3 separate regions of the Homo sapiens genome follow, and all the other regions are linked to region 1. Evidence: promoter capture Hi-C in 16 types of primary human blood cells and fetal thymus (Javierre and others, 2016). All regions are on one chromosome and are shown on one strand. Each heading gives the region's core, a stretch centred on a gene start or on the middle of the fragment in contact. The rest is flanking DNA. Distances are from core to core; before and after follow the strand shown.

Region 1 (2,753 bases), core at 14-2,513:
GCCACGCGGCAAGGCAGGTGCTGGGGAGCCCATGGATGTGTACAGCTGCTGTTTGCTGGCATTGTCATGATAGCAGGCCTCTGGTCCTTCCTGTCTCCCTGCTCCTACTCCAGGGGCCCTGAGATTGGGAGGTTGGGAGGCCAGAGCCAGCAGGTGTCCGTAGATGAGGAGCTGGGCTCTGCTGTCCCCACAGATGACCGGTGGTTTCCTGAGCTGCATCTTGGGCTTGGTGCTGCCCCTGGCCTATGGCTTCCAGCCTGACCTGGTGCTGGTGGCGCTGGGGCCTGGCCATGGCCTGCAGGGCCCCCACGCTGCACTCCTGGCTGCAATGCTTCGGGGGCTGGCAGGGGGCCGAGTCCTGGCCCTCCTGGAGGAGGTAAGCTGGGCAGGGTGGAGGTGCTGCGGGGTGGGACGAGGGAAAGGACCAGTGACTGCTTCCGTCTTCGCCCCTGGTCCAGAACTCCACACCCCAGCTAGCAGGGATCCTGGCCCGGGTGCTGAATGGAGAGGCACCTCCTAGCCTAGGCCCTTCCTCTGTGGCCTCCCCAGAGGACGTCCAGGCCCTGATGTACCTGAGAGGGCAGCTGGAGCCTCAGTGGAAGATGTTGCAGGTGAGGCTGACTGCGGAGGCATGGCCCTGCCCTGGGGCCTGGCTCTGCCGCACAGATCGGTGGGGAGGGCAGGGCAGGGGAGTGCCCTGAACCAGCTCCAGCGCCGGAGGCCAACTGCGCGCCTCTTCTCGGCTCCTCCTGTAGTGCCATCCTCACCTGGTGGCTTGAAATCGGCCAAGGTGGGAGCATTTACACCGCAGAAATGACACCGCACGCCAGCGCCCCGCGGCCGCGATCCGGACCCCAAGCCCACGGCTCCCTCGACTCTGGGGCACGGAACCCCGCCCACTCCCAATCCCCGCGCCCCGCCCTCTCCCACCCGTGCTTCCCCCGCTCCACCCCTCACCTCACCTCGCCCCCGCCCCACCCATCGCGCCCCGGCCCGTCCCATCGAGGCCCATGCAACCCACGCTCGGTCCCGTTCCGGCCCCTGCGCCCCGCTGCGCTTCGCTCCCCGCCCTTGCGCCGTTAGTAAACATCGCTCAAACGAAACGCTGGCTCTGCCTCCTTTACTGAGCACGCTCGGCCTCGGTCTCTCACCCGCGGTGCCGGACTCAGGCCGGAAGTATGCCGCGGCCCAGGCCTCACCAACTTCACGCGCTGCCGGCGTTCCCGTGACGTATTTCCGGCGCGCCCGCCCTAGTGCTCTTCACACTGGCGCGGCTGTGACGCGACGGAGGCGGCGAGAGCGGCAGCCGTGGGCACTTTCCACGGGTGAGGCCTGGAGAACGGGTGGACGTGCAGGCCAGAACCCGGGACCCACCCGGCTGAGCCCCCAGACTCTCCGCTGCCCACGACCCTCGGAGTGGCACCCTCTCCTGGCCGTCTCCTCTCGTGGGTCCCGAAGAACGGGTGCAAAGCCGAGTTCGTCCGCTGTACTGCGCGGGCGCGCGTTTCGTTCTTCGGTTTTGCCACGGTTCTGTGACTCCCTAAAGGTTGAGGGCTACTGAATTAGAAGAAACGCCGAGCTGGCTTCTGGTGGGCTGCCGGGCGCCGGGCAGCGTGCTTGGACTGGGGAGGGCAGGGCGTGTTTACTCTGAGTAGAGCAACCGCAAGACCTCCTTTAAAAAATACCAGTTCTGAGCTTCGGCATTGGAGAGGCCGCCTGTCATTCAGCCTCTTCGGACCCTCTCTCACTCCCTGTCTTCCGGAGCGTGAGTGAAGCCCGGGTGAGGTGTTTTCCCACACGCCGGGGGCCCGGAGCTGAGAAGGGGCATGGCCAGCATCACGCAGCTGTTCGACGACCTGTGTGAGGCCCTCCTGCCGGCTGCCAAGACTCACCTGGGCCAGCGCAGTGTGAACCGGAAGAGGGCAAAGCGGAGCCTCAAGAAGGTGGCCTACAATGCTCTTTTCACAAATCTTTTTCAAGATGAGACTCAACAGCTGCAGCCTGACATGTCAAAACTACCAGCGAGAAACAAGATCCTCATGTTGTCCTTTGACTTGAGAGTGGGTGGCCTGGGCCCCAAGGCCGACCGTTTGGAGGAGCTTGTGGAGGAGCTGGAAGCAGCCCCTTGCTGTCCGCTTTTGGAGGTGGGGTCTGTTTTGGACCTCCTGGTTCAGCTGGCAGGGAGTGGTCCCCCTCAAGTTCTGCCGAGAAAACGAGACTACTTCCTTAACAACAAGCATGTGGGGAGAAACGTTCCGTACAGCGGCTATGATTGCGACGACCTGAGTGTGTTTGAGATGGACGTTCAGTCTCTGATCTCCAGAGAAGAGTGTTTGTGTCACAGCATGATCCAGGAAACACTTCAGGTTATGGAGGCTGCTCCAGGCACTGGCCTGCCCACCGTCGGGCTCTTCTCATTTGGTGACCCTTGTGGTGACAGGTTCGAGAGAGACACCCGGGTCTCGCTCTTCGGGGCCCTTGTGCACAGCCGCACTTATGACATGGACGTCCGACTGGGCCTGCCCCCCGTGCCAGACAATGCGGACCTCTCTGGGCTGGCTATTAAGGTAGAATGTTTAGTTTTTCCTCTTTCATCTCTCTCGGGGTTTGGAAAATGCTTCCTGTGACCTTTCTTCTTCTTCTTCTTCTTCTTTTTTTTTTTTTTTTTGAGACAGTGTCTCACTCTGTCACCCAGGCTGGAGTGCAGTGGCGCGATCTTGGCTCACCTTAACCTCCACTTTCTGGGCTCAAGC
Region 2 (2,792 bases), core at 114-2,613, 93 kb after region 1:
CCCGTCACTCCTCAGGCCCCAGGCGCACGGCTCGGGATCGCAGCTGCTGCCTTCCCTGCCGGGCTCTCTCCTGACAGCTCCAACCCTCGAGGGAAGCACCGGGAGGGAGGCGGTGGTGGCCTCTGGGAGCTTCCTGCGGCCCTGGGGCGTCCCCAGCCACATGGCCCTGCGAGCTTCCCCAGGCCCTCCAGAGCTCACTGGGCAGCTTCGCTTCTCTTGGAGCCCAGTGCTTGTCTGCTGTGACCACCTGAGAGTGGTGCCTGTGATGCCTCCTTGGTGCCAGGCACAACTCATCTGGCAGGAGAAGTCAGCATCCATCTTGGGGGGCACAAGCCCCCGATGGCTTTTCACTCTCTGGAGACCAGCAGAACATCTGCCCCGCCACAGGCAGGTGACAGAGCCTCACCTGGGAGGAAGGACCTCCTGCCATACTGTCCTTACCCGACACGGTCACCTACGGATTCAAGACACAACTCACCCGCACACCATGGAAGATGAGAGGGAAGCCTTTCTTAGGCAACTTCTCCCAGCCCAGCAAGGAGGTCACCACTGTGGGGTCCGCACAGACCTCGAGTTCCCTGTGGTAGAACAGCCGTGAGGGCAGCATCAGCAGGGCCTCGTGGGACCGGTAGTTCTTCACCAGCTTTGTGACCTGCGAGGAGATGGTGATGGGTCACAAGGGGAAGGTGGTACCCGGCACAGTTTCTGTCGAACGAAAAGCGGCTCTGCACAGCAAACGTGAGGCCTGCCTGACTTCCAAGCCTGACTCTGCTCCTGCGCCCCTGTGTGTCGCCTGCCCCCAGACCAAGCCCTTGGATGATGGTCAAGCCAAGGGTCCATCTGAATAGAAAATGGAAACATCAGGAAGAAAAGGGTGTGACGGCTGCCCTCTGTTCCTCTCCTGGGTCTGGGTGCCGCTGAGGGGCCTCTTAAAGGGCTCCTGCCACCTGGAACCCAGCAGCCGGGTGGAGGGCAGGTGGATGCCTCCCTCGTGTGCTGAGAGCTTCACCCTGGAAACAGCATCTTGTTGGCCCACACAGCCCTGCCTCCGCTTGGCCACAGGGAAGGAAGAGCTCCTGGGCCCCTGGGCCAGGAGAGCATAGACACTGTGACTCTGGGGGCCTGGCCAGCCCTGGGCGGGCCTGGCTGTGACTTCACTGATGCGGCTGAGGGTGACTGTGATATCACCAGTACATGGGACACCTTTACTGTCTGCCTCCAACTTGCTCGGGAAGCTCACTCAGGGCAGGTGCTCTTCCCCTGGTGCTGGTGTAAGCAGCCAGAGAGGGTCTCCAGCGACTACAGGAGTTCAACCAGTCAGAGCAATGCTCAGTCTTGACCCTGCTCATCACGTGACCCATGTATTGGCATGAGGACTCGCTGCGTCTGTGCCGCGGGGAGCCGTCCTCTCTATGCAATGCTGCACCCTCTGCCCTCCTGTCACTGACTGTCCCTCGGGGAGACACTGCTGGGGAGAACAAGCCTAGGGCTCTCCCTCCTTGGGATGAGTTAACAAAGCCCCTGTTGGTGAAAACCTGTGTTCCTGCAGTGCTGTCTGTTACTCGCCAGATGACACTGGCACGAGAACGCCATGATTGGCCCCGTGAGTCCTCCCGACTCTGTCAAGCCTAAATAGAATGTGTCCAGCCTCCAACGTGCTACTCCAAACTCCAAATGTGATCTAGAGTCACGGCACCTCTGCCTTAGCTGGACATGGGCAGCTGCTGGGGAAGAGAAAGGAAGCATGCAGCCTCCTGGGGTCACTGTGGCAGCCGCTCTGGTTGGAGGGTGCAGGACACTGCCCAGGCCCCACACAGGACAAGGCCTTCACCTCCCGTGCGGCAGGGTCTTTCTGTACCTGTGGCCCTGTGCTGTATGCACCTGCCCTGAAGGCTGTGTGGTGGGGACGGCAGCGTGCTGGTCTCTCCTGCTGCGGCCACGTCACCTGCACCCACACCTCCAGCAAAGCAGCTAGCGGGTACAGGCGCACAGCGGCACTGGAGGATGAGGCGAACCTCCGGGGGACAGCAGAGCTCTCAGGCGCCCTCTGGGCCCAGCAGCTGCTCACGGCCGGCCATCTTCCTGGGGGCAGTTTCATGGCCTCCTGGCACAGCCGGTCCTGTCTTGCGGGTAGTCCCTCATGAGGCCTTCCTTGGCCTGAAGACCCCCACCTGCTCCCTACCCTTGACAACCAAGAATGGGGTCCAGTCCTTTTCCCTGAAAGTCTGCCCATGGTAACTGCCCCTCATTTTCTATTGATGTTAATACTGGCAATGGGAATCAGATGGAGACTGTTTTTCTGTGGGCTACAGGGGCTTACAAACTGAGGCTACTTGGTTCACTGTTGAATGATGGGCCCTGGAGGCCCAAGCTCAGTGTGCTGGGGGCTCCAAAGATGCAAATCCCAAAGCCCATCCCTCAGAATTTGGTGCAAGGTTGGCTGAGAGCCCAGACCTGCACTTCAGTGGGACCTTGGGGTCAGAGACCACTGAGGAGACACTGCCTGCAGTCACTCTAGGGCAGGCTTTTTAAGTCACAAAAATTATTTCTTGCTTTTCTTAACGTTAACAGAGTAACACAGATTTTAACTTATTTTACTGAATCTGACCCCAGAGTCTCAGCCATCAGCACCAGGCTGCAGTTTCTGCTGACGGGGGAGGTGCTATGGTGGGTGCTCCCCTGCACTCTGCCCACGGATGGAGATGACTCAGGTGGACAGAAGAGTGAGCTGCTCGACTGCCCTGGAGCCTGTGTCTGCTTAGCTGGGGACCTGAACGCGCTGGAGTCTGTGA
Region 3 (2,902 bases), core at 34-2,533, 120 kb after region 1:
CCTAGTTAAAAAATATATTACCATGTTTAAAGCTAACACAAAATCACAAATTTCTGTGCTGTCCTATAAAATCCAACACTGAGGAGGTTCAATAAAACGTTACTGGGGTCAGGCTGGGTGCAGTGGCTCATGCCTGTAATCCCAGCACTTTGAGAGGCCGAGGCGGGCGGATCACAAGGTCAGGGGATCGAGACCATCCTGGCTAACACGGCGAAACCTCATCTCTACTAAAAATACAAAAAAAAAAATCAGCCGGGTGTGGTGGCGGGCGCCTGTAGTTCCAGCTACTCGGGAGGCTAAGGCAGGAGAACGGCGTGAACCCGGGAGGCAGAGGTTGCAATGAGCTGAGATTGCGCCACTGCACTCCAGCCTGGGCGACACAGCGAGACTCCACCTCAAAAAACAAACAAACAAACAAACAAAAACATTACTGGGGTCAACTGCTTACAACTAATGAAATACAACAAAGAAACATGCTTGATGTACATCGGTTGCTGATTTTTAGTGAAATTCTAACCCAAAAGAAAGAAAATGCGATAATGTGACTGTCATATTGCCAGTTAAAGAGTATCTTCTCTCAAGTATGGTTTCTCTGCTAGTCCACCCAGGGAAGCATATGAGTAACAAACACACCTGCGTAGAGAGAAGGCCTCCCTTCGGCCAACCCTGGGACCTCCAGAACCAGCAGATCCCCATTCCTTCTTAAGATGATCCCGCTCATGTTATACTCTTTCAGTTCCATTTCTGCATAAATCTCCTCAAGCCACAGCAAAGTCGAAAACTTCTCCTTGTAATTTGACATGTTCAGAAGCTGGAAAACACCCAAATGTTATAAAGTCAGCAACAGCTCAGCAGCACTCTGGAAAGTAGCAGCTCCGGAGCAGGAAAGTTCCAACAGCTCCAGTTCAGCAGATGGCCCCCCAGGTGGGGCGATCCTCGCCGGAGTCTGCAGGTGCCTCAGTAAGTTCCCCGGCCTTCAGCACGAGGGCCATGGGGCTCCAGCACACTCCCTGGCCTTTGGCATGAGGCAGTGGGGCTCCAGCTGGCGGTGTCCCTCCCTGCACTGCCCACTCCTGTCCACCCTCCCTGCTCTTTTTCAGGTTGTCCACGTTAATTCTGGGAAGGCAGAATTTGGCTTCCACAGACATCTGTGAAAAAAGGACAAACTTCCAGGTCTGGCCAAGGTGGACTAACAAGGACCAGATTTACCCTTCTACCTGAAAAAAACTTAAAGAGACAGAGAAATAAGAAACGATGGTGTTTAAACAATGAACATCACGTAGCAAAGGATTGTGATCCCAAGACTGGGGAAACAATCCATGGGGGCCCCATGACTGATCCACCTGTGCCTGAACAGAGCTCCTAGGCCCCAGCACAGAGGACCCAGGGATGCTGCATGGTTTCTAAGGAGAGGAGCTCTGATCTGTGGGGCTGAGCGCTGGGAAGAGCAAGCAGCACAGAGTGGTCTGGAGAGGGTCAGGGGACCCACTCAGGACCATCAGCTCAGCACTAAGGAATGCATGAGACACCATCCTGCAAAACCCATTGAGGGGCCAGACCAGGGCCTCAGCATGAGGTGGGGGAAAACTCACAGCAGCCTGCCCGGAATTGGAAAGTGGGAGGGCAGAAAGTGCGTCTGAACACATGGTGGCTGAAAATTTCCAAATCTGAAGAAAACTCAAGGCCGCATATTCAAGAATCCCAATGAACCCCAAGCACAAGAACAGGAAGAAAAGAATCTCTACCACCACACATCGTAAACCAAATCTATTAATATCAGTGATAAAAGAGAGAATCTTAAAAGCAGCTAAGAAAAAACAACGTTATGTGCAAAAGAGCAAAGATAAGAATTAAAGCAAAAGAACCCCATAAGAAAAACTAAAAAATACTTAGGAGATGAATAAAAACAAAAACACAATACAGCAAGACTTATGGGAGCAGCACAAGCAGTGCTGAGGGAATTTGTGACTATGAGCACTGATTCCCATGAGCACTGCAAGGAATTAGACAAAGGAGAACAAACTAAACCCAAAGATAGCAGAAGGAAGGAAATAAAGATTAGAGGAGAGATGAACAAAAGAGAGAACTGAAAAACAATACAGAAAACCAGGAAAACAAAAAGTTGGTTCTCCAAAAAGATCAACAAAATTGACAGACTTTTAGTAGATTAACTAGAAAAAAGGGAAAGACAAATTACTAAAATAAGATAGGAAAGTGGGAACATTACTACAGAATCTACGGAAATAAAAAGGATTATAAGAGTATGAGCAATCGTATACCAATACCCAGATGAAATGGACAAATTCCTAGAAACACAAAACCTACCAAGACTAAACCATGAAGAAAGAAAATCTGAATAGACCAATTACTACTAAGGAGGTTAAAGCAGTAATAAATATTCTGAAAAGGAAAACCCCAGGACCTGATGGCTCCATAGCTAAATTCTACCAAACATTTGAAGACTAACTAATACCAATCTTTCTCAAACTTTTCCAAAAAATTCAAGAGGAGGGAATACTCTCTGACTTATTCTTATGAGGCCAGCATTACCCTGATCCCAAAGCCAGACAGAGACACTTCAGGAAAAGAAAACTACAGACCAATATGAACACTGATGAAAAAATCCTCAACACGATACTAGCACACAAAATTCAGCAGCATATGAAAAGGATTAGCTGGGTGTGGTGGCTCATTCCTGTAGTCCCAGTTACTTGGGAGACTGAGGTGGGAGGATTGCTTGAGCCCAGGAGCTCGAGGCTGCAGTGAGCAGTGACTGAGCCATTGCACTCCAGCCTGGGCAACACAGTGAGACCCTGTCTCAAAAAACATATATAAAATAAAAGGATTACATGCTATGATCAAGTGGAATTTATTCCTGGAATGCAAGGATAGTTCAACATTT

The links. The method cuts DNA at HindIII sites, captures the fragments that hold promoters and counts their contacts. A CHiCAGO score of 5 or more calls a contact.
Region 2: a fragment that was not itself captured here is called in contact with the fragment with the promoter of TUBGCP6 in region 1 in 8 of 17 cell types (monocytes, M0 macrophages, neutrophils and 5 more); the score reaches 8.7 in monocytes.
Region 3: a fragment that was not itself captured here is called in contact with the fragment with the promoter of TUBGCP6 in region 1 in 1 of 17 cell types (neutrophils); the score reaches 8.5 in neutrophils.

What each region holds. Positions count from the first base shown.
Region 1 is chr22:50,243,533-50,246,285 of GRCh38, reverse strand. It overlaps TUBGCP6 (tubulin gamma complex component 6), which reads left to right and starts at 1,263. Exons shown (of 25, transcript NM_020461.4): 1 at 1,263-2,567. The coding sequence starts at 1,827. HDAC10 (histone deacetylase 10) reads left to right here. Exons shown (of 20, transcript NM_032019.6): 18 at 194-376; 19 at 459-611; 20 at 756-1,103. The coding sequence ends at 779. RefSeq lists a silencer at 891-960 and enhancers at 1,431-1,480, 1,891-2,170, 1,744-2,674. The HindIII fragment of the contact is 66,555 bases long and covers 1-2,753 here.
Region 2 is chr22:50,150,905-50,153,696 of GRCh38, reverse strand. MOV10L1 (Mov10 like RNA helicase 1) reads right to left here. Exons shown (of 27, transcript NM_018995.3): 22 at 479-652. Among named protein-coding and RNA genes, the nearest start is that of PANX2, 18 kb to the left of the region's middle. The HindIII fragment of the contact is 3,821 bases long and covers 1-2,792 here.
Region 3 is chr22:50,123,301-50,126,202 of GRCh38, reverse strand. It overlaps MOV10L1 (Mov10 like RNA helicase 1), which reads right to left. Exons shown (of 27, transcript NM_018995.3): 11 at 634-811; 12 at 1. Among named protein-coding and RNA genes, the nearest start is that of MOV10L1, 35 kb to the right of the region's middle. The HindIII fragment of the contact is 4,552 bases long and covers 1-2,902 here.